4 separate regions of the Homo sapiens genome follow, and regions 1, 2 and 3 are each linked to region 4. The links are contacts of gene promoters, found by promoter capture Hi-C in human tissues and cell types (Jung and others, 2019). All regions are on one chromosome and are shown on one strand. Each heading gives the region's core, a stretch centred on a gene start or on the middle of the fragment in contact. The rest is flanking DNA. Distances are from core to core; before and after follow the strand shown. Region 1 overlaps MCF2L (MCF.2 cell line derived transforming sequence like). Region 2 overlaps ADPRHL1 (ADP-ribosylhydrolase like 1). Region 3 has its middle 9.0 kb from the start of MCF2L-AS1. Region 4 holds the start of PROZ (protein Z, vitamin K dependent plasma glycoprotein).

Region 1 (7,017 bases), core at 1,323-3,822, 150 kb after region 4:
GGGAGTGGCGTCACGTGGCTGGAAAAAGGCTTTTCAGTTTCCAATACGTGGAGGCCTTTGTTTCTCAGCGCATAAAAGCTGTGTGTTGAGTGATTCACCATCAATTTTGAAAGTGTGATATAAGAGGTTCAGAGAGAGGGACTGAGAGACAGAGAGAGGGAGGGACAAAGAGAGAGACCTGGGCAGAGGGGAGGCAGGGGAGCAGTGGGAAAGGGCTTGGTCCTGGCTCCTCGGATAAATACACTTTGGTCTGAGTCCCACCCACATTAGGGAAAATGTTCAGGCGACCCCTGCCCCGCACCTGTTGCAGGTGCAGTAACTTGTGGCCCAGGAGGAAAACCTGGCCATGGAATGGGCCTCTGCCTCCGCACACACAGGACCCTCGGGGGTCTGTGCCACAACCCTGGCCTCGCCATTAGACGGACACAAATGAGGCAGGATGGCAACAGCAGGGTCGACCCCCACACCCATCCCCCCACCCAGCAGGTTCCAGATGGCTCTGGACGCACTGCAGCACCTGCAGCCACCAGGCCAGCACTGGCTGGGAGCACGGGGGGAGCATGGGGCCAGTACCAGCTGGGAGCACTAGGCCAGCGTCAGCTCGGAGCATGGGGTCAGCACCAGCTAGGAGCATGGGGCCAGCACCAGCCAGGAGCACGGGGCCAGCACCAGCTGGGAGCACTAGGCCAGCATCAGCTCGGAGCATGGGGTCAGCACCAGCTAGGAGCATGGAGCCAGCACCAGCCGGGAGCATGGGGCCAGCAAGACCCTCCAGGGAAAGCTGTACGGACTGACAGGCTGGTGGTCTCTGCTACAGAGCGGCTGCCAGGCCACTGTGCCTGGGGGACACTGACCACTGACCACGGAGCAGACACGATTTCTGGCCAACGCTCTCATCATATAGCCACATTTGCAGTCTTGAACATCCACACAATTTCTCTCTAAAAGATGCAGGACTCACGCTGATGACCTGAGAATGGCTTAAACGCTCAATTTTTCCACACCTGAGGACCCAGGTCACTAACAGCCTGAAGATATGGGACAGAGGTGTTTGTACCTGGAAATTCCCAGCGGAGGCTGCCAGATAATATCTACCTGGCATCAGACTTAAATCTTGCTCTTCCAGTCTTGCAGACAAACAAGTGTAAACACGGGACACAGTGGAACACAAAGGGGCCCCTCCTGGGCCGTGCTGGCTGCGGCCCTGCCAGCTATGGGACTGCTTTGCCTCCGAGCCAGACACAACCCTGGTGTTGGGGGGGAAGCAGCAGGGCCACGGTGTCATGGGACCTGCCAGAGCCAAGCAGATGTCAAGGCCCTTCCCCAGAGCCTTGCAGGGCGAGCTCAGGGCACAGACCCATTCCCAGTACGCAACCACGTCTCGGCGATGGCTTCTTTTGTGGGAGAAAGACAGAAACAGTCAATCAGTAAAGCATGAAATACTATCTCATGCTCCTGGCAAGGTGACTTCCACTGGTGCACACCTCTCTGGAATGTGTGTCTGGTGCAGCCGACGGCAGCCTAGACTGCGCAGTTGGATGTTCAGATTTTACGGTAAGTTTTTCTCTCTCACCAGGAGCGACTGTGACCTGAGAGGAAACCAGGAGGCACTGTCCTCAATCCCCTGCCTGCCTCACAGACCGTGGGGGCACCGTCCGCATCACAGTGTCCACCGTCCACACCGCCTGTCCACCGTCCGCATCACAGTGTCCACCGTCCACACCGCCTGTCCACCGTCCGCATCACAGTGTCCACCGTCCACACCGCCTGTCCACCGTCCGCATCTCAGTGTCCACCGTCCACACCGCCTGTCCACCGTCCGCATCACAGTGTCCACCGTCCACACCGCCTGTCCACCGTCCGCATCACAGTGTCCACCGTCCACACCGCCTGTCCACCGTCCGCATCACAGTGTCCACCGTCCACACTGCCTGTCCACCGTCCACACCACCTGTCCACCATCCACACTGCAGTGTCCACCGTCCACACCGCCTGTCCACCGTCCGCATCACAGTGTCCACCGTCCACACCGCCTGTCCACCGTCCGCATCACAGTGTCCACAGTCCACACTGCAGTGTCCACCGTCCACACCACCTGTCCACTGTCCTCATCGCAGTGTCCACCGTCCTCATTGCAGTGTCCACCATCCACCCAGCCTGTCCACCGTCCACACCGCCTGTCCACCATCCACACCACCTGTCCACCATCCGCACTGCAGTGTCCACCGTCCACACTGCCTGTCCACCGTCCGCATCACAGTGTCCACCGTCCACACTGCCTGTCCACCGTCCGCATCACAGTGTCCACCGTCCACACTGCCTGTCCACCGTCCACACCACCTGTCCACCATCCACACTGCAGTGTCCACTGTCTACACCACCTGTCCACTGTCCTCATCGCAGTGTCCACCGTCCTCATCGCAGTGTCCACCATCCACCCAGCCTGTCCACCGTCCACACCGCCTGTCCACCATCCACACTGCCTGTCCACCGTCCGCATCACAGTGTCCACCGTCCACACTGCCTGTCCACCGTCCACACCACCTGTCCACCATCCACACTGCAGTGTCCACTGTCCACACCACCTGTCCACCATTCACACTGCAGTGTCCACCGTCCACACCACCTGTCCACTGTCCTCATCGCAGTGTCCACCGTCCTCATCGCAGTGTCCACCATCCACCCAGCCTGTCCACCGTCCACACCGCCTGTCCACCATCCACACCGCCTGTCCACCGTCCGCATCACAGTGTCCACCGTCCACACCGCCTGTCCACCGTCCGCATCACAGTGTCCACCGTCCACACCGCCTGTCCACCGTCCGCATCACAGTGTCCACCGTCCACACCGCCTGTCCACCGTCCGCATCACAGTGTCCACCGTCCACACCGCCTGTCCACCGTCCTCATCACGGTGTCCACCGTCCACACCGCCTGTCCACCGTCCGCATCACGGTGTCCACCGTCCACACCGCCTGTCCACCGTCTGCATCACAGTGTCCACCGTCCACACTGCCTGTCCACCGTCCACACCACCTGTCCACCATCCACACTGCAGTGTCCACCGTCCACACCACCTGTCCACTGTCCTCATCGCAGTGTCCACCGTCCTCATCGCAGTGTCCACCATCCACCCAGCCTGTCCACCGTCCACACCACCTGTCCACCATCCACACCGCCTGTCCACCATCTGCACTGCAGTGTCCACCATCCACACCACCTGTCCACCGTCCACACCACCTGTCCATCATCTGCACTGCACTGTCTACCTGCTGGCAGCCCGCAGTGCCTCTGGACTCTCTGGGCCAGGACAAACTCTAAATATTGTCCCTCAGATCAAATGCCTCATTTTGGGTATGAAAAGCAGGGATCCCCCTGTGTGTGATCAGAAACTGCACACAGCTAAGCCCTCATACAAATAAACTCTAAAATATCGCTACATCTGAAGTGGTCACTGGCCACTCTGTGAACCTGAAGAGGCCTGTGGATGCTCTCTGACCCACACCAGAGTGTTGGCCTTCTTCCGTTCTTCATGGAGGCCTTCTGCAGGCGGGGCCCTGGGATTTTCAGGGCGCTGGGCGTTTCTTCCATTTATGTGTGTAAGTTTTCATTCTTCTTGATTTTTTGAACCCACTCAAGAATGATGGGAAAATCTGCCCTTATGATCATAGTTTCTTTAAAAGTTCCAGTCTACTTAATTTTGCAGCCATAAGACTAAGAAGCGCACGGAGGAACAATAGTGGCCACTCAGTTCAGGAGACAGGTCCCCAGAGGAGATGCAGGCAGGCGAGCATGGCCTCTGTGGGGCTCTGTGCTGTCAGACGTCTGGGAGGTGGTGGGCCCCTGACCCGTATGTGCCACCCAAGGCCAGGCCAGGCCCAGCTCCCTCACTGAGCCCTGCTCCAACCAACTCCCCAGTGATGACCCCACTGCTCAGAGGCAGGTCTGAGAGGGGAGGGTTAGGGCCTCACATCTGAGGCCCGGCAGAGGCTGCCCCGTCCATTCCCCTGCCACGCGGGCAGAGGCAGCAGGTGGGGCCGACGAGGGGGTGGCCAGGCCTGCCCCTGCCCATCCCCAGCACCGACCACAGCAGCCCCACCTGGGAGGGCCAATCTCTTCTGGCCACTACGGGGACGACGTGGTGAGATTTCCCAAGCGTGGGAAGGGCAGAGGTGCCCTTGGCTCACCTGATACACAGGTGAGGCCCCACCACTGACTTTTCCTCACAGAAACAGGGTCCTGGCAATGGCAGTCCAGGGAGGGGGACCATGTGTCTATCTTTAGATCTCTTTGTTCCAACAAAACCAGACGACTGAAGCAAACTTCCTTCCTCTTGCAAGTTGACTCAAAAGCTTGCTTTATTTGAGGACAATTTCATCCTGAAAACCAGGAGCGGGGTGTTGCGGGGTGGGAGGGCGGCCAAGACGTCTGAGCAGTATCCCAGGCACCCCTTCCAGCCCAGGGTGACCTCGAAAGCAGCAGAGAGAACGGGGACTGGAGGCGGGTGGGCCCTGGAAATCCTCTCATGGTGCGGGTGGGGGGGGTATGGGGGGTGGACTGTCACAGGTGGAGGCAGCAAGGCAGCTCCTGGCAGCAGGAAGAGGCCCAGGTGCAGCAGGAAACCCCGTCCCTGGTGCTCACTGGTGACCGTGGGCAGAGGAGAGGACAAGTCTCTCCACACAGCAGCCTGGGGCCATGGGGTACAGTCCATCTTTTGCCAATTGTCTTCTTTTATTTATTCTGGCAAAATGCCCATTCCCAAAGGCTTCTGCATCCTGTCCATCAGACAGGACAGTCGTGCCTTTTCAAAGTCCAAGGCTGAGCGTCAGATGGGATTACGTCACCAGATCATCCGGCCAGAGGCCTTCCCGAAGCCCATCCTTGAGGATCTCCAAACCCAGGAAGAACAGGGCCACAGAGCAGGGCAGTAAGAAGAAACGCAGGCCACAAAATCGGAACAAAATCTAAATTCAGTAAGGAGGATGCTTGAAACCACAGCCTTCAGATAAGGACACCCCAGGAGGCCAGCATCCCCGTCCCCTCCAGACAAGCTCCTGACACTGTGTGGGTCAGGGGATAAACAGGACACCCTGGGGGCCAGCGCCCCGTCCCTGCCATTGGGACAAAAGGGGCGTCCACACCTCTGTTTGTGATGTGTGTTAAAGGATCTGTTTGATTTTGCATTCCCGATGTTTAAGGTTTATCCTGACTTGGTTGGCAGAATTCTCACTTACATTAAATCTCAAATATGTTTAACGAGCCATTTGCTAGTGGGTTAGGTATAAATATTTCATGTCACATACACAGTGACTTAAATCACATGGTTCACTAAATATTATTTTTCTGATCTCAGAAAGCTTAACCTTTACACATTTTAAAAATACAAGGCCCTGCCAGAAAAGATGGTCAAAAGAAGCGGTGATCAGGGAAACCCCGCTCCTACCGCAGGGGCGTCATCTCAGACGCGCAACACCAACCGGCAAGGGCCAGGAGCCGGCGGACTCCCACGTGGGGGGCAGGTGTCAGTGCACAGCCGCCCCGCAGAACCCTCCGGACGCCCTTTGGAGTGAGACAGTTTGCGCCTCGGGCAGGGAGGACTCGCACATCCGCACTTGGCCAATCTCCTCTGGGGGTCGTCTCCAGAGCTTCGCTCTCCGCTCTCCACGCTGCCTCGCCCGCCCGCCCGCAAGCCCTGGGGGCCGTCTCCAGAGCTGCGCTCCCTCTCCACGCTGCCTCGCCCACAAGACCTGGGTTCTCTGATGCAGGCGGGCGTAAGAATCCCCTGGAGCGTGTCCTCAGCACACATGGGTGTGTTGTTTGGGACCAAGCTCCTGCCTAGACCCCAACAGATCAGACTGAAAATCAAAATGAAGTCCCCACACTCCAAGGGAAACTGAGTTGTTATCGGACCTTGGAGAAAACAGGAGACAGAGGAGAGGCCAATCTTCCAACCAGGCCAGGCTCTGTCTTCCTCGGCGTGGTCACGGAGGTCCCTCTTTTTGTTGTTCTTGCTCTCAACTTGTTTAATATGTAAAAGGACAATCAAAACAGTGGTCAGAATTTCCACTTTTGATACATTCTTAGGATGCAGCCCATCCAGAGAGCATCACTTCAAATAGATGAAGAATTACCCAACTTTTTCTGTCTTAAAGACAGTTTGCTTAGATTTTAAAAAGACTTAATTCCATGAGTTACGGCACTGAATTTAACCATGAGAATTAAATATAAAAACATGGAGGCTCTGAGCTGCCCGCAGAGGTGGGACTCCTATGAGGGTGACTGCTGGAGTCCAGGGGCTGAGACACAGCCACTCACAACATTACCGTTCCCCTGTAACAAAGGGTTAAGACTTTATCATAACTTAATTATACATTCATTATGGTGCTTTAAAACAGTCAAGCCTAAATAAATTCTTCACACTGCCAAAAAGATACCCGTACTTGGCCGGGCACAGTGGCTCACGCCTATAAATGCCAACACTTTGGGAGGCCAAGGTGGACAAATCACTTGAGGTCAGGAGTTCAAGACCAGCCTGGTCAACATGGCGAAACCCCCTCCCTACTAAAGATACAAAAATTAGCTGGGCATGGTGGCAGGTGCCTGTAGTCCCAGGTACTCAGGAAGCTGAGGCTGGAGAATCTTTTGAACCTGGGAGGTGGATGTTGCTGTGAGCTGAGATTGTGCCACTGCACTCCAGCCTGGGTGACAGAGCGAGACTCCATCTCAAAAAAAAAAAAAAAAAAGAAAAAGAAAAGATACACATACTAAAAACCCATTTAAGCACAAAGTTTGTCACGTGACGGCTCTTGGTCTGGGCCACACGTGTGTGCAGGGATCTTCTGCTTCTTCAAGCTTGATGTAAGTCCGGCAATCACCTAATGTGAAACTGATCCTTACGACACAGAGCCGCCTGAAGTGGCCAGTGGGTCACGTCTCTCCCGCCGACTCCCCAAGCTTACAAAGGACAGTGACTGAGGCCGCCGAACCGCGTTTGCACAGTTTCTGCTTTCCTCAGCCC
Region 2 (6,582 bases), core at 907-3,406, 240 kb before region 4:
CCGGGTGCCCCTCGCGCGTGTGGGTCCCGGGGCAGCCCAGCTGCACACAGGATGGTCCGGGGGTGCGGGTGGGGGCAGAGCTGAGCATGGCGTGTACTTGGCCACAGAAGTCTTGCTGTGGTGCCGCTGGACCCCTGCTAGGAGGACAGGGTCCCCTCTCTCACGAAGCACACGGACCTCCAGAGTCCCTGCCCCTGCAGTCCTGGGAGCCTGCAGTTGGGGCTGGAGTTGGCCTCTCGGAGCCACCCAAACGGAGAGGCCCATGAGAGGGGAGCTCAGGGGTCCAGCAGAGGCTGACAGAGTGGCCTCTTTGTCCTGTTGGCGGCCCCTGCTCATGCCTGGGGCGTCCTCCCTGGAGCTGGGGGAGCTCAGGGACCCCCAGGTCTGTGTGGCTGCCCCTGCCACTCCAGGCACAGCGGCACGGCCCTCACTCTTTACCTATTTGGAATTGGAGGCAATGAGTGGCAAGAACATGATGACAGACACGGGAGGTAAAAATATGTTCACTGGCTGTTCCCTTTATAAATAAGAAGTGGTGGGACTTGCGCTGCTATTTTTAAATAGACCAGAGAGTACACTGGAGAAGGCATTGAGTGGTTTTATTTTAAGTGGTGGAAAAAATGATGAGAATCTCCTCCAGATGACAGCTCCGGAAGTGTCGTGCCTGAACCCCTCTCACAGTCTGGCGGGCGCAGAGTCTGTGAGCGGCCAGGAGGCCACCTGCTCGACTGGCCCGTCCTCTCCATGTGCCAGATGCAGCCCAGCATGACACTGCCCTCAGCTCAAAAACAGCACAGCTACTCTGTGTGCAGGAAAAAACTGCCAGTGACTTCACCAGGATTTGAGAACGGTCCGTACGTTCACACTAAGCTGAGACAGCGCAGGTTAGAAGATAGCGCGGGGAAGTATTCACACTTCAGATACGACCATCACGGCCACATGGCTAAGGCCCACACCCTCCCGGGGTGAAATAACTACAGCAGAAGAATGGGGCGCTAACCACCTCCACGGGCATTTTAAATAAAACCCAAAGTTGTTTTGTTTTTTTAAAAAAAAAAAAAAAGAAAGAAAGAAAGTGGCCGGGCACGGTGGCTCATGCCTGTAATCCCAGCACTTTGGGAGGCCGAGGCAGACAGATCACGAGGTCAGGAGATCAAGACCATCCTGGCTAACACAGTGAAACCCTGTCTCTACTAAAAATACAAAAATTAGCCGGGCGTGGTGGTGGGTGCCTGTAGTCCCAGCTACTCGGGAGCCTGAGACAGGAGAATGGCGTGAACCCGGGAGGTGGAGCTTGCAGTGAGCCGAGATTGCGCCACTGCACTCCAGCCTGGGTGACAGAGCGAGACTCCGTCAAAAAAAAAAAAAAAAAGAAGAAAAGAAAAGAAAAGAAAACAGGATATTTATTTTAGCTTCTTAGTTAACATCATTAATTTTGTGTAGTTGAGCGACTCGTTGACTGCCTCCTCCCTGCAGTTTTTTACGGTGCCTCCGGCTGTCGACAGGCCCACTGTGAGCCGCAGGTCTGTGGGTGCAAGTGACAACAGCCGGGCGGGAGGCGGTGCACTCAGGCGGCAGGAAGGTCCCGAGACGGCGACGAGAATGTGGTCATGTTCAGGACACTCGCTCAGGGAGGGTCGTTGTCTGGGATTTTACACGCTCAGCACCACCTCCTTATTCTGTTCTCAGGGTATCTCTGCTGTTGGAGTTACGGTCTTTCGGTTGTGTATTAGGCTACAGCTATTTATTAAATTTGTTCTTGTTCATATTCTTCTTTGTATATAAACAACCCTAAAATGGGTTAGTCAGAAAAAATTACTAAATGTCATTTGTTGTATTCTCTCTGTATTTTTACTAACATCATTCAGCTGGAAATAATTTCAAAAAGAAATAAAATACCTTTCCCATTACAAATCTCTTCCTTGCATTGTTGAAGCAGCCGCATAAATGAAGTAGGACTCAGGCCTGGGGCGAGGGGCAGAGCCCCCATCGGGTGAATGTGGCCAGCCTGGAGCAGTGATCCTGGGCAGGAGGGAGGGTCTGGGGCAAGGCCCCAAGTGGGAGGAGAACTCCTTAGGATGTGCTTAGAGAGACAAGGCCATGCACTCCCCAGACCCTCTCTTGGTCCAGTCAAGACTGTGCCGGCCTCGGAGCAAGACCCAGGGAGCTGGACTTCGGCCACTGCACCTGGGCCGCGGGGGGCCAAAGGGCTGGGGTGTCCTCTGGGACACGGAGGGAGACTGGACAGAAGGGAGGGAAGGAGTATGGGTGCAACGGGCCCAGCAGGCCTGTGAGACACCCTCTGCCCTCCACTACTCTGTATGCAGGAGAACTTTGTAAGTGACTTTTCATGAGGATTTAACAACGGGTGGTTTAAGCTCACGCCAGACCTAGCTGGGAATGCCTGCATTCCAAACCCCTGCTGTGCCCGTGGGTGGCGCGGGTTCTTGGCATCTTGTGAGGAGGAAAGCTTGTTCCACTGAAACGAGCTGATGCCTCGTGTCTGAGAGCACTGGCCCGGCAGCCGAGGCTTTGGGATGGTGCAGGCACCTCTTGTCCTGAAAGAAAACCCCTGTCAATTAAGCTATGACACAGGCTTTCATTAGAACTTTTATTTTATTTTATTTCATTTATTTATTTTGAGACGGAGTCTCGCTCTGCCACCCAGGCTGGAGTGCAGTGGCGTGATCTCGGCTCACTGCAAGCTCTGCCTCCCGGGTTCACGCCACTGTCCTGCCTCAGCCTCCTCAGTAGCTGGGACTACAGGCGCCCGCCAAGACGCCCGGCTAATTTTTTGTATTTTTAGTAGAGACAGGGTTTCACCACGTTATCCAGGATGGTCTCGATCTCCTGACCTCGTGATCCGCCTGCCTCGGCCTCCCAAAGTGCTGGGATTACAGGCGTGAGCCTCTGCGACCGGCTAGAACTTTTAAAAGCACTTATTGAGGGCGTCTGTGAGACTGGTGTACATAGAAGTCTGATCAAACCCCATTCTTGGGATATTGTTATAAGCTTGGGGTAGACAAATGTTTCCCTGAACAGAAGAAAAAGCCCCAACCACAAAAGGAAGTGCCGGGACATTTGTCTGTTTGAGCGTCGGTGCATTTGCTGAATCTTTATGGCCGCCATGGATTTTTGACAGGAATGGATGTCACGTAGCCCCCAAAGCCCAGGACTGAGCAGCTGAGCAGTGCACGCCGTTTCTCTGACAGCGAGAGGACTGGCCTGGCTCAGGTCCACAACCCCAGGCGGTGTCTGGGAAGCCACTCGAAGGCACAGGAGCCTACTAGAAGCCCCATCTGTGCACACCCCAAACTCGTGAAAGTGCCGAGGCATCTTCTCCTAGAAGAACAAAGGAGGCCAAGCGGGGAGTGAAGGCAACAGTGTCTACAGTGGTCCGTTTCCAAGACAAAGTGCCTTGAATCGGCTTAAGTCAGCAAACTACAGAAGAAACAGGAGGTCCGAGGCCCCTGCCTGGATCGCCAGTGCCTGCTTGCCGGCCTCCCCTTCTCCCTCCCTTCCCCCCGGCCCTTAGGTGCTCTCACCTGAACTAAAGAAGTTTAGTCTAAGATAACAGTTTACTAGCCTGCAAAATAGCTGGCTTTGTCTGTTCTTATCAGCCTGCCCAGCTACTTAGGTCATAAGTCAAATACTTGAAGAGCCCCTGGGCTGACTGGGATTGCAATGCATTGTGGGCTGCAACAAAATGCAACAGGACACCCCTAAAAAAAACACCTACAGCCCCTGCCCAACAACCAATAGGTGACGTCCCAGAAGACTGTGACCCCAGAGTACTCAGCCTGTGAGGAACCCGGGGAGACACCTGTGCACTAGGGGATAAATTATTTGTTGAAACTGTGCTGGCTGTGGCTGCCCATCAGACACCCGATCTTGCAAGACCATCATCAACAGTCTCACTTTCAGCCAGGTGCAGTGGCTCATGCCTGTAATCCCAGCACTTTGGGAGGCTGAGGCAGGCAGATCACAAGGTCAGGAGTTCAAGACCAGCCTGACCAACATGGTGAAACCCCGTCTCTACTAAAAATAAAAAAATTAACTGAGTGTGGTGGTGTGCACCTGTAATCCCAGCTACTCAGGAGGCTGAGGCAGGAGAACTGCTTGGACCCGGGAAGCAGAGGTTGCAGTGAGCCGAGATTACGCCACTGCACTCCAGCCGGGTGACAGAGCGAGACTCTGTCTCAAAAAAAAAAAAGAAAGAAAGAAAGTCTCCCTTTCACTCTCCTCCGGGTCTCCGAGTCCTTCTTCTGGGTTTGGACAGATGAGTTTGTTTCTCACCACTTGAGACCAGGAGTTCCAGACCAGCCTGGGCAACATAGTGAGACCCCGTCTCTATTTAAAAATGAAAGTAAAATAAAAAATAAAAGAACAAAAGACCACAGGTCATGTTGTATTGAAGAGCGGAGAAAGAGCTGTTGAATTCTCTGGATGGCTGTTTCCTTACGGCCTGTACCACTGGAAGTCATGTCTTAATCCCCAACTGGAAGAAGGCGCTCAACCCACCAGCAAATCTGCACGTAGGGAAGAATTTTCCAAATCTTGAAGAAATAAGAACCCAAAAAAAGCACCAAATAAGTTACAGATTTCCATTGCTCAATCAATAATGATGATGATAAAATAATCAAGAAGCCGGGTGCGGTGGCAGCACCTGTGGTCCCAGCTACTCAGGAGGCTGAGGTGGGGGGATCACGTAAGCCTCGGAGTTTGAGGCCAGCCTAGAAACATAGCAAGATCTTGTATCTTAAAAAAAAATGAATAAAATGTTAAAAAATAAAACAAAATAAGAAACTGATGAAATTCTTGGACTTTGATAACGGCAGGAAGCCGCACACATACAGGAAGAACAAAGTCCAGAAAGAGCTGACGGTGGACGCCCAAGAGAAGAGGCGGCTTCTGCGAGCTCTGTGTCGTTAGGAAGGGAACTCGGCTTCATTTCAAATTCCAAAGGGGCTCAAACATATGAATAAGACCCCAGTCTTTCATGGGAGCCCCAAAAGTGGGGCTATTTTTCTACGTTTTGACAGCTCCCCACAACATGAATCCTGTCTTCTCTCTGCACGGCAGTCCCACATCCCACATCCCCAGCCTTCCTTGCTGCTGGGACGCATGCAGCTCTGCCAGGGAGACGCAACCTCCCCAGGCCGGCAGGGCACAGCAGGTTCTGGGCCCACGGTGAGGACGAGCCGGTGATATGGAGTCTCCTGGGTGTGCAGAGAAAGATGTTTCCAGGGAAGCTGAGAGAAGGAAGCTCATTAGCCAGTGCAGAGCTGGGCTTGGAGGCCTTTCCTCTAGTCCTGCAAGGAGCTGGGAGCTGTCACACTGCTCACCATGTCCCTTTCTGCTCAAATTCCCCAGGATGGATTCTGCCCCCTGCACTCAAGAAAACACAGGGGGCCGGGCGCGGTGGCTCACGCCTGTTATCCCAGCACTTTGGGAGGCCAAGAAAGGCGGATCACGAGGTCAGGAGATAGAGACCATCCTGGCTAACACGGTGAAACCCCGTCTCTACTAAAAATACAAAAAAATTAGCCGGGCGTGGTGGTGGGTGCCTGTGGTTCCGGCTACTCGGGAGGCTGAGGCAGGAGAATGGCGTGAACCTGGTAGGCGGAGCTTGCAGTGAGCCGAGATTGTGCCACTGCACTCCAGCCTGGACGACAGAGCAAGACTCCGTCTCAAAAAAAAAAAAAAAAAAAAAAAAAGAACACACAGGGGCGCCCCCATCAAAACCCACAGCAGACGTGCTGTATCGGACCACATACTGGAGCACACGGGGCTGTCCCCATCAACATCCACGGTGGACGTGCCGTATCGGACCACATACTGCGTGCGTGGTGGTCAAAGACATGAAGTTGAACTCTCATGGGTCTATCAAGTTGAGAACCAAAACCCCCAATTTTTAAAAGGAATCGGTAACACTCACTACCTCTGAGGATGTACGGAGACAGTCATTCCTGATGGGACCAAACATTGGCCCTTCCTTTTTATAAAGCAATTTGGCAATAATGTCAAGAACCTTTAGAAGGGGTGGCTCCTCAGCCCAGCAATTCCAGCTTTGAGAAACTGTATTTAGGAAAAGCAATCTGTCCAGCGTGGTACTACTCAAGATACAGCCATAAGTGACACAAATGTCCACCAATTAAGAGATTAGTTGGCCAGGCGCGGTGGCTCACGCCTGTAATCCCAGCACTTTGGGAGGCCGAGGCGGGCGGATCACGAAGTCAGGAGTTCAAGACCAGCCTGGCCAACACAGTGAAACCCCGTGTCTACTAAAAATACAAAAAATTAGCTGGGCGTGGTGGCGGGCACCTGTAATCCCAGCTACTAGGGAGGCTGAGGCAGGAGAATCGCTTGAACCCAGGAGGCGGAGGTTGCGGTGAGACGAGATCACACCATTGCACTCCAGCCTGGGCAACATTGCAAGACTCCCTCTCAAAAAAAAAAAAGAGATTAGTTAAATAAAGTGTGGTGTCTTATTCAGTGAAATAGCAGTCATTTAAAATTAGCTGAGGAAGAACTTTGTGAAATGGAAAATATTGTACCATTTAATGTTTAAAATCCAATATA
Region 3 (6,236 bases), core at 3,628-6,127, 200 kb after region 4:
GGGCTCCTTCCTCATACCCTCTCTGGGTAGGGGTTGGGGCCTTCCCTCCCAGAGCCTGGGGGGAGGTCCCGGGAGAACGGCTAGGGAGCTGGGGCCTTCAGGGGTTTTGCTCCGGAGTTAGGCCTGTGCTTTGCCCAGCAGCCCTAAGCTGAAGGAGAGGGAGTGCCTGATTGCTGCGGTCTGGGCAAGAAGGGTCTGTCCATGCTGTCAGGTGTGAAGGCTGCACTGGCCAGGGACCAGGCCTGGGCACCAGGGATGTGGCCACCAACTGGGTCGGCTAGAAGTGAGGCCCACCCCCATGGCTGGCTCCTCACAGCACAGCAGGCCCAGCCGACACCACACAGGGACCGCAACCCACCAGCACATGCAGGCCTCCGAGGAGACAGCACCACCTCACTAGATGGAAAATCCACATGTGTGTTTGTATGTGTGTGTGCAGGTGTGTATGTGTATGTGCATGTGCCTGAGTGTGTGTACATGCGTGTGTGAGCATCTGTGCCTACATGTGTGAGCATGTCTGCATGCAAGTGTGTGTGCATGTGTAAGTGTGACTGTGTGCAAGTGTGTGAGCATGTTTGTGCATGCGTGTGTGTGCATCTGTGCATGCACAGGTGTGAGCATGTCTGCATGAAAGTGTGTGTGTGCATGCATGTGCGTGTCCGTGCGTGTGTGTGCATGCCTGGGTGTGAGCGTGTTTGTGTGTGCATGTGTGTGCGTGTCCGTGTGTGTGTGTGCATGCCTGGGTGTGAGCCCATGTGTAAGCGTGTTTGTGTGTGCATGTGTGTGTGCATGTCCCCTCGCTGTGCAACGGAGAAGCTGGCGCAGGCAGAAACTGGAGGAGGTGGGTGAGTGAGGAGCAGAGCGGGAGGGTGGGAGTGAGGGTGAATGAGTGGCCTCTCGTGGTCACAGCAAGGCAGGAGGCCCCTCTGATTCCGTACCCCAGCAGGCCATCCATCAGTGGCCTCTCCTGGGCTGGGGCGAGGACTCAGTGTCACAGGAAGCACCTTCCGGAAGGACCTGAACTAGGAGGACAGAGGGGCTCACTGAGGGTGACTGCAGCTCCCGGGAAGTAGCAGTGGGGATGCCCTCAACAGCCCAGCTGTGTGTGTGGCCACAGACATGGGAAGGAGGGCTGCAGGTCCCGGCCAGGCCATGGCAGGAAGGGCCTCGAGAGGGGTGGGCTCTGGCCTGGGCCTGGGACCCCACACCAAGCCCACAGCAGCAGGAAGGGAACGGCAGGGCCAGTCCCACCAGGCCTGACCATGTTCCCTGAGGAGGAACCAGAGCTCCTCAGATTTTAGAGGAAGACTTGAGGCCCTGTCCCCCAGCCCTGCTGCACGATTACCCCTGGGGAACCAGGCATCTCCTCGCAGGGCCAACCGAACCCCAAGGCAGAAGACTGCTCGTGGGAAGGCAAATGCTTGCCCAAGTACAAAGCAGTGAATACCTGCAAAGATCACTCGACACTTTCAAATTAGTGCCCAGTTGTATTTTATTATAATGACAATACAATAACAGCAGAGTCACTTCATCACATTTTGTATTATTTTAAGACTTGGTATATGCAGAAAGCTTAGCAGCCCGCATCTTCAGAAGTCTTCAGGGCTCTGCCGTGTGCTCACATGGACACACGTGGAGAACAGGTGCAACGTGGAGGCATAGCAGATGCAACGTGGAGGCATAGCAGACTCCCCTTGGTAGGAATGCATGGGAAGAGCAGGGTCAGGGAGGACCCCAACATCCCTGGAAGTGTGTGTTTTGATGCCTGGTCACTGCAGCCCAAACACTGGAGGCCCCTCAGGGGCCCCCACTTGAGCTGCGGCACGGCCTGCAGTCACTCACGGTAGAACCTGGGCCCCCACGTACCACAGAGAGCCATTGGGGGCTATCCAGGAGATCCAGGGTCATCCCAGGGTCCTTCCAGCAGGGCAGCAGGAGGCTCAGGCAGGGAGGAGATGTGAGGATGGATGTAAGGGTCTGGGTGGTGCGGCCATGAGCCCAGGAATGCAGGCAGCACCTGGGGCTGGACAGGGCGAGGAAAGGATTCTTCCTGGAGCCTCCAGAAGGGACTAGCCCTGCTCACACCTTGGTGTTAGAACTTCTGGCCTCCAGAGCTATAGACCATGAATGTGTGTGGTTAGCCAGTGTTTGCAGTGATCTGTCAACTGCAATAGGAAACTGACACAGCCCTGGACACCGAAACCCCAAAGCCCCCCTTCCCCAGAATGACAGCCTATCCCGCCCCCTTGGAGAGAAACTCCAGCATCCATCACACCCACATTTCAATGCAACAACCAAAATGAGCAGGGGACAAGGCAGTCTGCTGGGGTTTAATGTGTCCCCCAAAGGTCGTGTGTGGGAAACCTCACCCCCAATGCCGCCGTGCTGGGACATGGGGCCTAAGAAGAGGTGACCAGGTCTGAGGACCCTGCCCTCATGACTGGACGAGCGCTGTTTCAGTTGTGAGAGCGCGCTTGGCCCCCTCTCGGTCTCTCCGCTCTCTCACCGGGTGAGGCCGTCTCTTGGAAAGACGCAGCTCAGGGGCCCTCACCAGATGCAGCCCCTCAATCTTGGGCTTCCAAGCCTCCAGGACCATGAGCCAACTAAACTTCCATTGTGTGTAAATTACCCAATCTGTGATACTCTGTTATAGCAGCAGAAAACAGACAAAGACACAGCCCCTGAGGGCAGGCGTCCGGGACAGAAGGCCTCTGCCCTGAAGTTACCGAGGGACCTCGGTGACACAGGCACCTCTGCCGCAGCCCGACGCGTGAGAACAGAGAGAGGGCTCTCCCCACACCTGCAGGAGGTGCTGCTGCCGTCACAGACAGCACAGGCCACAGCGTGTCCACTGTGCATCTCCCATGATGGAGACAGGCACGACCATTCAGAAAGCCTCGTGAGCCTGTGTGCACTCCAAATAGTCTAAATTCGGTTTCCAGCACCGGTGCGTTGCTGCTGTGGACACACCATGCCAGGCCACTGTGCAGCTTGGTTGTCGTGGGTGTGTACTGCACGTGGGTTGCTACCAATAATTCACTTTTGGGTTTTGACATCCCTCTTGCCAACAGATATTCCCCCTCTGTCTATGCTAGAGGAATGAGATATTCCCTCTAATAGGGAGAAAATCTAACCTAGAAGTCAAACGCATGGAAACATGGAGAATACCTTTGAACAGCTCAGACCTAGACAGCCATGGACAGTATCCTCCTGTCCTATTGTTCTGTATGCTGCCAGGAGTTCTCCCCCCAGGATGACCCTCCTCCCTCACTGCAGGAACAAAGCACACTGTGTTCTCGAGAAGGAACAGCTTCCCAGAGAGAGGAAACCCCTAAACACCGAGGCCGTGCCAGAGAGTAAGGAGAACGCGCTTGTTCTGAAACAAAGGACCCACTGATGTCACACCATGTCCGAGAAACTCTCGATGAGAGCCCCAGATGGCAGGATGTATAATATAAATATAACTGACACGCCAACTGCTGGGGCCAGAGTGGAGAGACCCGGAGGACGGGGGGTGGTGAGGGAGAACGATATGAGGGTGATCCCAGCACAATTCATTAAATTCTTTCTAAAAGAAAAACTAGAGGAAAAAAGCATATGGTATGTCTTGAACAAGCAGAATTGGTAAAAACAAGACTTTAAAAATTAAACTGGAACTTTTCAGATAAAAACCTCTAGGTTAACATTTATCCGCAATACCACTACCAGGCATTTGGGATGCGACGCTCATTCTGTGCGTACGGAAGTTTCTGGAAGAGGCATAGCGGCCACAGGAGACCTCTGCTTTTCCTGCAGGACCCCGGTGCTCTCCGGGGGGAGGTGCAGCCATCCTCCCGCCCAGGATTTGCTTCCACGGCAGCTTCTGTGTTCACGGCTCTCCCACGAGCCATCCAGACCCTGTGCGGGAGGGTCTCAAAGAAGTCACCTTGAGCCTCCAGGTGCTCTTAGCCCCAAGGCAGAACCTGGAATCCCACCAGGAGGTGCCTGGCACACGTATCCCACACACGAGCAGGGCTGGGGGCATTCCAGGCCTGAGGAGCTGCATGAGGAGAGGCCCCAGGGGTAATGAAGGCACGGGAAGTAACAAACCCTAGGAGACAGCAAATGGTCCATGCGGTCAGCCTGGGCGTGTGCCAGGCAGGTGGCCAGGAAGGAATGATGCATTTCAGGGAAATGAGGAAGGTGAGTCAGGATGCAGCCTGGTCTTTGGTGGGTCAGGGGTCAGCCTGCTGAGGCCCCAGCCCCCGCCACCCAGTCCCACCCTCGTCGGGGGCTGTGCGGGTGTCGTGTGGATGTGGCTGATTAACACCTGCGGTCAGCTGGCTCCGAATGGAGCATGTGCCCCTCCACAGTGGGCTGGGCCTCATTCAATCCCTGCATGGCCTTAAGAGAATAGGACAGGGTCCCCCGGAGAAGCGGACACCTGCCTGCAGACTGTCACATGGAAATCCTGCGTGGGTCTCCAGCCTGTGTCTGCACTACTGAGGTCAGACATGCCAGCCGCACAATTACATAAGCCAGCCCATGACACGGGGCACAGACGAACCACGCACGTCCACGCATCTCCTAAGGTTCTGCTTCTCTGAGAATGCAGCAGGCCTGGTCTCGAGAGCCCAGGAAGAGCTGAAAGTCTTTATTTGTTGGCACAAGAGGCATCAGGGAAAGAGAAACACCTCAACAAACTGGCATCTGAGGAAGACTGACGGCGACAGCTGGGGAACGTCCCAGGTAAGGGAGTCAGAAGAGTTGGATGCTGAATGAAGAAATTTTAGGAAAATCTAACCAAGTTATTTTGCTTAGCTTCCCTTTGTGTATATACAACACTGATAGCAAAAATCTGAATAAGGCAAATAGAGCTCTTTAAGTATAAAATAAAAACTAAGTGATAAAATTAAATTCACTTTCTTTGAGTTGCTCAAAGCATTATTCTAAATGAAATGTATGTTAATTCACTTCACAAAAGTCATCCACCAAAGCAGAATTCCCACATTAGGATACACAAGGTGGAAGAAGAGACTACAAGGGTCATAGGTTAGAGGTAACTTAAGTTATAAAAACCCATGAAAATGAGATATTGTAATAAAAACACACACACAGAAAAGTATGTAATACATGAACCATATTCTACTTCATGAACAAAAAAATCAATAAAACAAAAACCTGACTGGAATAAGACCTTGAAACAGCACGACTGGCCACGTCTATCTGGCGTCTATCTGGCGTCTATCTGGCGAGGAGGCGCGGCATGGAGTCCAGGGTGGAAGCCCAGCTCACGTGGCTCAGGACCCCGGGGCCTCGGCCTCTCATCTGCAAACCAAGATTAAACTAGGGCAGTAAGATCCTAAATCTCTATCGTTCTATGAAGAAAGTGGGCCAAAAAGTCCAAAGCCTCTACAGTTTGGAGACATCACAGCTGACTGCTGCTGACTGATGAGCACACATGTGAACTCCATTTCTGAAAATACTGCGTCCTCTAAAAGGAAACCAGGGGCCCCAGAAAATGCCAAGCATTGACCGCCTGTGCTGCGATGGCATTTGTAAGAGCAGCCCCTGCTGAGCTGAGCGTACTGTCTGTGAGCAGCAGGGGCCGGTAGGGGAGGATTCTCCCATTTGTGCAGTTCAGTTAGAGCTCTCCAGGGTCACGTCAACAGATAATGCACCATTATCCTTTGCTCTCGGGGGCGGCCTGTAAATAAGGCTCTGCACACAAAATCACAAAGGCATCACAAGAACGACACGCAGTAGCCACTGTTCCTCAGCAGCCATGAGGTGGGCAGAAACACACACATGCTTCTAAAACATGCACCAATGGGCAGAATGTGACCAGATCTGGGTATTGAATGCCTTCCTGGCTGTAAGTAAGGCTTGGTTTACTCGGAGCTGATGAAATCCAGAGATGTCATACGAAATGCATGTAGAGTTTGATAGGAAAACCTCATCGTGTGTCCCGGTCAGGAGAGTTTAAGGAGTGTGAGAGTGTAGACACAGCAGGCCTGGATTCCCAGCAGACCTGGCCTCAAAGTGGACAACCTCGAGGCTGGACCTGGATGCGCCTAGCAGGGCGTCACCTATGTGGCCAACCTCGCTGCAGCAGCAGCAGCTGCTCCACACAGGTCTGCATCCGGCCACTGTCCCAGCAGCCTGAAAGCCGCAGCCACTGGCAGGGAGCTGTGCACTGTCCTCCAGCATCCTCTGAAAACTCTGCCTCCTCATCATCCGTGGGCCAGACGCTTCCA
Region 4 (6,432 bases), core at 3,818-6,317:
GGTAAATTTGGGGTGTCTGTGAAGGCATTAGCTGGGGCATCAAGGAGGCAGATGGAGCAGAAATCTGGACTTCGGAGGAGAGGGCTCGGCTGGGAGGAAGGTTTTCCCCAGAGAAACGGGCTCCAAGTTGACCAGTGGTGCTGAGAGCGGAGCACGCTTGTTGCTGTAGTTGGCGATGATGGACACTGACATTTGGCGGGTATTTAAGGATATTTGTTTACGTGCTTTGCGTCTTCCCTGTCTGCAGTCTCCCACTGGGAGTCTGGCACTGAGGACGCCTGTGTGTGACCCCCCCAGCCTGTGAGCAGATTGTGAATGGTTGAGGTGGTGGGGGGAGGAGAGGGGCCCCTGCTATGAAAAGTATGGGGGCCTGTCTGGAAGGGGCAGCTCAGAATGCAGCCAGCCCCCGGCGTGGTTTCTGGAGGAGAATCTGGTTGGGATGAGAGGAATCCCCTGGGGTGAGCCAAATCGCGGTTCACACAGGCACCTTCATGGCTACACCTCAGGAGGGGCCCATTGGGACTCTGGCCGAGGATGTGAGGCCCACCTGCCCAGGGAGGCCCTTGGGGGAAGGGGACGGCCGGGGCCTCACCCAGCTCGCAGTTGCTGCCCTCATAGCCGGGGGAGCAGGTGCAGGTGTAGCCCCAGATGCTGTCCTGGCAAGAGCCGTTGTGGAGGCAGGGCTGGGAGATGCACGGGGAGCCGCCTGCAGGAGGAGGATGGGGGTTGGGGTGGTGGTGACAGGAACGGGGACCTGAGCAGGAGGAGGGTGGGGGTGGTGACAGGAATGGGGACCTGAGCAGGAGGAGGATGGAGTGGGGGGTGGCAGCAGGGACGGGGACCTGAGCACCTGAGCAGGAGGAGGGTGGGGTGACAGGAACAGGGACCAGAGCAGGAGGAGGACAGAGTGGAGCAGGGACGGGGACCTGAGCAGGAGGAGGATGGGGGGACGTGGCAGGGACGGGGACCTGAGCAGGAGGAGGATGTGGGGAGGTGGCAGGGACGGGGACCTGAGCAGGAGGAGGATGTGGGGAGGTGGCAGGGACGGGGACCTGAGCAGGAGGAGGATGTGAGGAGGTGGCAGGGACGGGGACCTGAGCAGGAGGAGGATGAGGGGACGTGGCAGGGACGGGGACCTGAGCAGGAGGAGGATGTGGGGAGGTGGCAGGGACGGGGACCTGAGCAGGAGGAGGATGTGGGGAGGTGGCAGGGACGGGGACCTGAGCAGGAGGAGGATGTGGGGAGGTGGCAGGGACGGGGACCTGAGCAGGAGGAGGATGTGGGGAGGTGGCAGGGACGGGGACCTGAGCAGGAGGAGGATGAGGGGACGTGGCAGGGACGGGGACCTGAGCAGGAGGAGGATGTGGGGAGGTGGCAGGGACGGGGACCTGAGCAGGAGGAGGATGTGGGGAGGTGGCAGGGACGGGGACCTGAGCAGGAGGAGGATGTGGGGAGGTGGCAGGGACGGGGACCTGAGCAGGAGGAGGATGGGGGGACGTGGCAGGGACGGGGACCTGAGCAGGAGGAGGATGTGGGGACGTGGCAGGGACGGGGACCTGAGCAGGAGGAGGATGTGGGGACGTGGCAGGGACGGGGACCTGAGCAGGAGGAGGATGGGGGGAGGTGGCAGGGACGAGGACCTGAGCAGGAGGAGGATGTGGGGACGTGGCAGGGACGGGGACCTGAGCAGGAGGAGGATGTGAGGAGGTGGCAGGGACGAGGACCTGAGCAGGAGGAGGATGTGGGGAGGTGGCAGGGACGGGGACCTGAGCAGGAGGAGGATGGGGGGAGGTGGCAGGGACGGGGACCTGAGCAGGAGGAGGATGTGGGGACGTGGCAGGGACGGGGACCTGAGCAGGAGGAGGATGGGGGGACGTGGCAGGGACGGGGACCTGAGCAGGAGGAGGATGTGAGGAGGTGGCAGGGACGGGGACCTGAGCAGGAGGAGGACGGGGGGGCAGGGGGTGGCAGGAATGGGGACTGAGCCTGCTCATGCTGCTCCCCATGCCATCGCCTGGCCCCCAGGACGCTCCCCGCTCCGGATGTAAGGCCTGGCTGCCAGTGCCTCCCACTCTGCTGGGTGCCCTTTCTTCGTCCGCACGCGGTCCCCTCTGTCCCGCCCCATCAGCCCTTCTCCGGCCTTCCCTGCCTCTCCCGCTTCCTTCTGTGCCCAGTTGTCCCCGTGCTTGTCTGGTGGTGGCTGCAGCTCTTTGCTTACTCATTCCCAGGTGGGTCCTTACCCTGGCCTCCCCCAGCCCCGTGGGTCTCCATCTGTGTTACTTCTGTCCCATGCTCTTCTGCAGTTGCCCACCTAGAGCTCCTCCCTTGGGAGGAGTCTCCTAACCAAAGTCTCCATCGGGGCCATGACTTTCCAAAATTTGAGACGAGTTCTGACCCTGCTGCAGCATGAGGCTTCCCAGGAGCCCAGGAGCCAGGCGGCTGGAGGAGCTGCTCTGGGGGGGCCCTCCTGGCCTGTGGCCCATGTCCCAGAGTGCCAAGAAACTACCCAGACACTGGGCAAGACAAACCAGGCACTGCCTGTGGCCCTGGTGGCAGAGCCCGGGGGCTTCCTGACCTGGTCCTTGGGGAGAGTCGGAGCTGCCCTTCCCTGGAGAGACACCGTGGGTCCTGGAGCCAGAGGCTTGGCATCCGCTGAGCTGGGGTCGTGAAGCGTCCTAAGCCCACCCACGCACCTCATCCCGAGGAATTAATACTTCTGAGGAGACGAAGGAAACCACTTACCCTTATATCGTCTCCAGAATTCATCCTTTAGAGTTAAAACATAAAAATGTTACAAATGGGATATTTGTTTTTCTATATTCTTTCCTGTAGATGAACTTGAAGGTAAGAAAATGTTGATTTTATTCACTTAATAGGACAATAGTGGTTGAAACAATGCACAATTTTCCTGTTTTACAGCCTATTTGTTTATGTTAAATGTATAGTAACTAAATGTATCTGTAAGATATATTACTCAACATGTGCTTACCACCACCTATTTGAGGAAGGCCAGAGTCTATGACATGGCACAAACCCACCACCCACAGCCCCTAACGTGGCCCTTCCCTTCTAGGGCCAATCTCCACGCCACCCTCCACAAAAGCACATGATATAGAAGTCACATCACCTTTTCGCTTTTTATAAACCGAGTTGAATTTTAAAGATATATACCTCTGTAGGGAGTGGGGACACTTAGTTTGGGGTAGGAGTATCTAAAATTAGGAGAATTATTCAGACTTGAAGCCTAGAAAGAAAATGTATGCTGGGTGTCTGATCAGTGTGTGGGCCTTGCCTGACCTGAAGAAATGAGTCCAGTGGGCTCTGAGCTGACTTCCAGCCCCACTCACTGCTGTAGGGAAAGGTGGATTAAGTCGATTCTCTAAATTGTTTCCTCATCTGTAAAACTGGGATTGTGTCAACCTCATCGGTAAGTAAATAGGCTAATTAATTAAGCTTAATCTCTGAGAAATGATGCTCCCTGGGCCAGCAGAAGTCTAAATAATGAGGAGGCCTGTGGTTTGTGGTGGGGGTACATACAGTGACTACTTCATTTTCAAACACTTCTCTTGCTTCTTCATAGACACAGATTTCTTCATAACATTCTTTTTCCAAGTTTCCCTCGAAGAGTTCTTCCAGAAGATAGGAGCCCGCACGCTTCCACCTCACCAGAACGTCGTTTGCTTTGGAGGCCGGGAGAAATACTACAGACGAGACAAGAAGGCAGGTGACTGGGAGCACCGAGGGCCCTGCTTTCCAGAGCTGCCTGGCTTCCTCCCCGGCCGGCCGCCAGCCCCAGCCCCGTCCGTCTCCACAGGCTCTCAGCCTGCGAGGGCCTCAGGGCCACCCCGCTACTCCCTCCCCCGAGGTAGGCAAGCACTTCATCCTCTGGGCGAATGGATCAGCCCCAGGATCAGTGCGGATACACTAAGGTTCTGCAGAGAGGCCACGGGCCTCAGTCAGGAAAGTGGAGGAGGGAGGGCTCCAACTGGGTTTTGGGTCTGAGTGCGAAGGAAGGCTGAGCTGGGGTCAAAGGTCCCCGTACTGAGAACTGGGGACCAAGAGCCATCAGCTCCTGTGCTGCCTCTGTGCGCAGCATTTAACATCTTGATAAAACACATAAAGAAGAAACTTATACATTGCAGCAGGCTCTGCGATTTCCAGGAGGAGAAGGCAAATGAGTTGACCCGCGGCAGTGGTCTCTGGAGCCTCTTCCCACCTGAGGGTCCCAAAGCATGTTCTCTCCCTCTCCGGGAGGGTCAAAGCCCAGGCCCTTCCCATCCTCCCTCCTTTTCTCTCGGTGCTGAGGGTTACAGCAGGGGGGGCTCAGCTAAGTCCGGCTACGGTAAGTGCTGGGCAGGGCAGGGCGGGGGGATCACCCTCTCAGGGTGGGAGACCATGGGGCCAGCGGGAGACCATGGGGCCAGCGGGGATGCTGGGTGTTTTGACTTGCAGCTTTCCTGGACGCCTGTGCAGGCAGAGTCAGAATGGAGTCCATGTCGTTCCTTCAGTGAAGTGGCTGGTGGTAGAAGGGTGGCAGGCAGGCAGGGTGGCTGCTCCCTGGCTATGTCTCCTGACTCAAGACTGGGCATTCCTGGCTGGCCTGGCCAAGGCTCTCTCTGCCCACATTGCAGTCTGGGCTCAGCCTGCCCCACCCCCTCCCCTCGTCCAATGCCCAACCCAGGCCTCCCCCCACTCCTCCCCCTTTCCCCCTCCCCTCTCCCCGGCCTTTCCCGGCTGAATCCCCTGCACACAGGCTTCTTTCCATTTGGGCATCTCTTGGGAGGACCCCAAGTGACACTATCATGTCCCAAATACTTGTCACCAAATGATAAAGATCCAAACAGCTTTTTCAGGGGAATTAAGACTAGTCTGGGCACTCAGGGCTCCTCTGGCTCCTGGAAAAAGCCTCATCTACAAATCCACCATGGACCGAGTCAAGAAAGACACAGCACAGGCACAACAGACAGGTAAGCCAGATGCCTACCTGAGGGCTCCACACGATGGAGGGCGAGGACCAGGACCAGGCCCTGGAGCAGTGGGACGCAGCCTGCCATTCCCACCCGGAGCGCTGGGACAGGGCTACAAACACAGCCAAAGTCCAGGCTGGGGGAGGTGCCGGCAGCAGGAGCCTCGGGGCACGACCTGTGCAGCTGTGTGCTTCCCTCCTGACGTTTTCTGTTTGAGGCCAGGCAGAGAAATGAACGGTGAAGGCTCAGAGGACCCTGGGAGATATTTAGGGAGACAGAGAACAGAAGGTAAAGGCAGCAGGTGCAAGGTGGAAGGTGGCACCCATGCCCGTGTGTGGTCAATGGAGGTGAGATAGGCCCTGGGGACACAGCACTGGGCGGGACAGACAAAGTCACATGCAGCTTACGTTCTAGGTGTGTGTGGAATACACAGAAAAGAACGAGGGAAAGAGACAGGAGGGAGTGAGGGAGGGAAAGCAGGAGGATGGAAAGAAGGAAGGGGAGAAAAGGAAGGGAGGGAGGGAGGAGGGAGAAAGCGGGGAAGGGCCAAATAGTGTCTGTCACTACAGCTCAGCACCATTGTAGCAGAGGCAGCATAGACAATCATGAATGAACACTTGGCTGTGTGCCAATAAAGCTTTATTTATAAGAGCTATTAAGGGGCCAGATTTGGCCCCAGGGTTGTCGTTTGCTGCTTTCAGATGTAGGCCCTGTGTATTAGTCCCTTCTTACACTGTTATGAAGAAATAGCCAAGACTGGGTAATTTAAGAAAAGAGGTTTAGTTGACTCCCAGTTCCACATGGCTGGGGAGGCCTCAGGAAACTTATAATTATGGCAGAAGGCACCTCTTCACAGGGTGGCAGCAGAGAGAATGACTGAAGCAGGGGAAATGCCAGATCCTTATAAAACCATCAAATCTCTTGAGACTCACTCACTATCCCAAGAATAGCATGGTGGAAACCACCCCCATGATTCAATTACCTCCCACCGGGTCCCTCCCAGGACACGTGGGGACTATGGGGATTACAATTCAAGATAAGATTTCGGTGGGGACACAGCCAAACCATATCAGCCCTTGAAGCCTGAGGTAAGAACCTGGTGTTTCATTTTCACTGTGTTGGGAAGATATTGGAGGGAACAGGAATTGACATGGAAAGATTTGTGCTCTGAAGGGATCACTGGGCTGCTGTGTGGAGAACAGAACATTCCAGAGAAGTCAAAAGGGAGGCTGCCGGCTAGTCCAGGAGGGGGTGAGGGTGCAGCCATGCAGCAGGAAGCACGTTTGCAGTCTGGATGCTTCAGGAAGGGAAAGCTGATGGGATTCATGATGAATTGTGTCGGGCAGCACGGCTCCAAGGTTTGGGCTGAGCGATTGGGAGGATGGCAGTGCGTGTGCTGAGACGGCCAAGCTCCAGGAGGGCAGAGGGAAGCGAGGTTTGGCAAATTTGAGGTGTCTGTGGGATG

The links. The method cuts DNA at HindIII sites, captures the fragments that hold promoters and counts their contacts. A contact is called where the count stands out against the background at its distance.
Region 1: a contact is called between a fragment that was not itself captured here and the fragment with the promoter of PROZ in region 4, in 7 of the 25 tissues and cell types used here (H1 embryonic stem cells, IMR-90 fibroblasts, aorta and 4 more).
Region 2: a contact is called between a fragment that was not itself captured here and the fragment with the promoter of PROZ in region 4, in 5 of the 25 tissues and cell types used here (H1 embryonic stem cells, IMR-90 fibroblasts, heart left ventricle and 2 more).
Region 3: a contact is called between a fragment that was not itself captured here and the fragment with the promoter of PROZ in region 4, in 2 of the 25 tissues and cell types used here (IMR-90 fibroblasts and dorsolateral prefrontal cortex).

The regions. Positions count from the first base shown.
Region 1 is chr13:113,007,642-113,014,658 of GRCh38, reverse strand. All of the region lies in intron 1 of MCF2L (MCF.2 cell line derived transforming sequence like), which reads right to left. It overlaps LOC107984591 (a long non-coding RNA gene), which reads right to left. Exons shown (of 2, transcript XR_001750037.2): 2 at 4,323-7,017. Among named protein-coding and RNA genes, the nearest start is that of MCF2L, 42 kb to the right of the region's middle. RefSeq lists an enhancer at 16-544. The HindIII fragment of the contact is 8,660 bases long and covers 1-6,902 here.
Region 2 is chr13:113,394,939-113,401,520 of GRCh38, reverse strand. It overlaps ADPRHL1 (ADP-ribosylhydrolase like 1), which reads left to right. Exons shown (of 8, transcript NM_001394807.1): 8 at 1-1,910. Among named protein-coding and RNA genes, the nearest start is that of GRTP1, 34 kb to the right of the region's middle. RefSeq lists a silencer at 3,193-3,487. The HindIII fragment of the contact is 6,890 bases long and covers 1-5,601 here.
Region 3 is chr13:112,956,534-112,962,769 of GRCh38, reverse strand. It overlaps a transcript of MCF2L not described here. Among named protein-coding and RNA genes, the nearest start is that of MCF2L-AS1, 9.0 kb to the left of the region's middle. RefSeq lists enhancers at 926-1,649, 4,371-5,111, 5,112-5,851, 5,852-6,236. The HindIII fragment of the contact is 9,655 bases long and covers 50-6,236 here.
Region 4 is chr13:113,157,283-113,163,714 of GRCh38, reverse strand. It overlaps PROZ (protein Z, vitamin K dependent plasma glycoprotein), which reads right to left and starts at 5,067. Exons shown (of 8, transcript NM_003891.3): 1 at 4,985-5,067; 2 at 3,538-3,701; 3 at 2,743-2,767; 4 at 593-706. The coding sequence starts at 5,054. RefSeq lists enhancers at 3,853-4,430, 5,007-5,584. The HindIII fragment of the contact is 7,105 bases long and covers 231-6,432 here.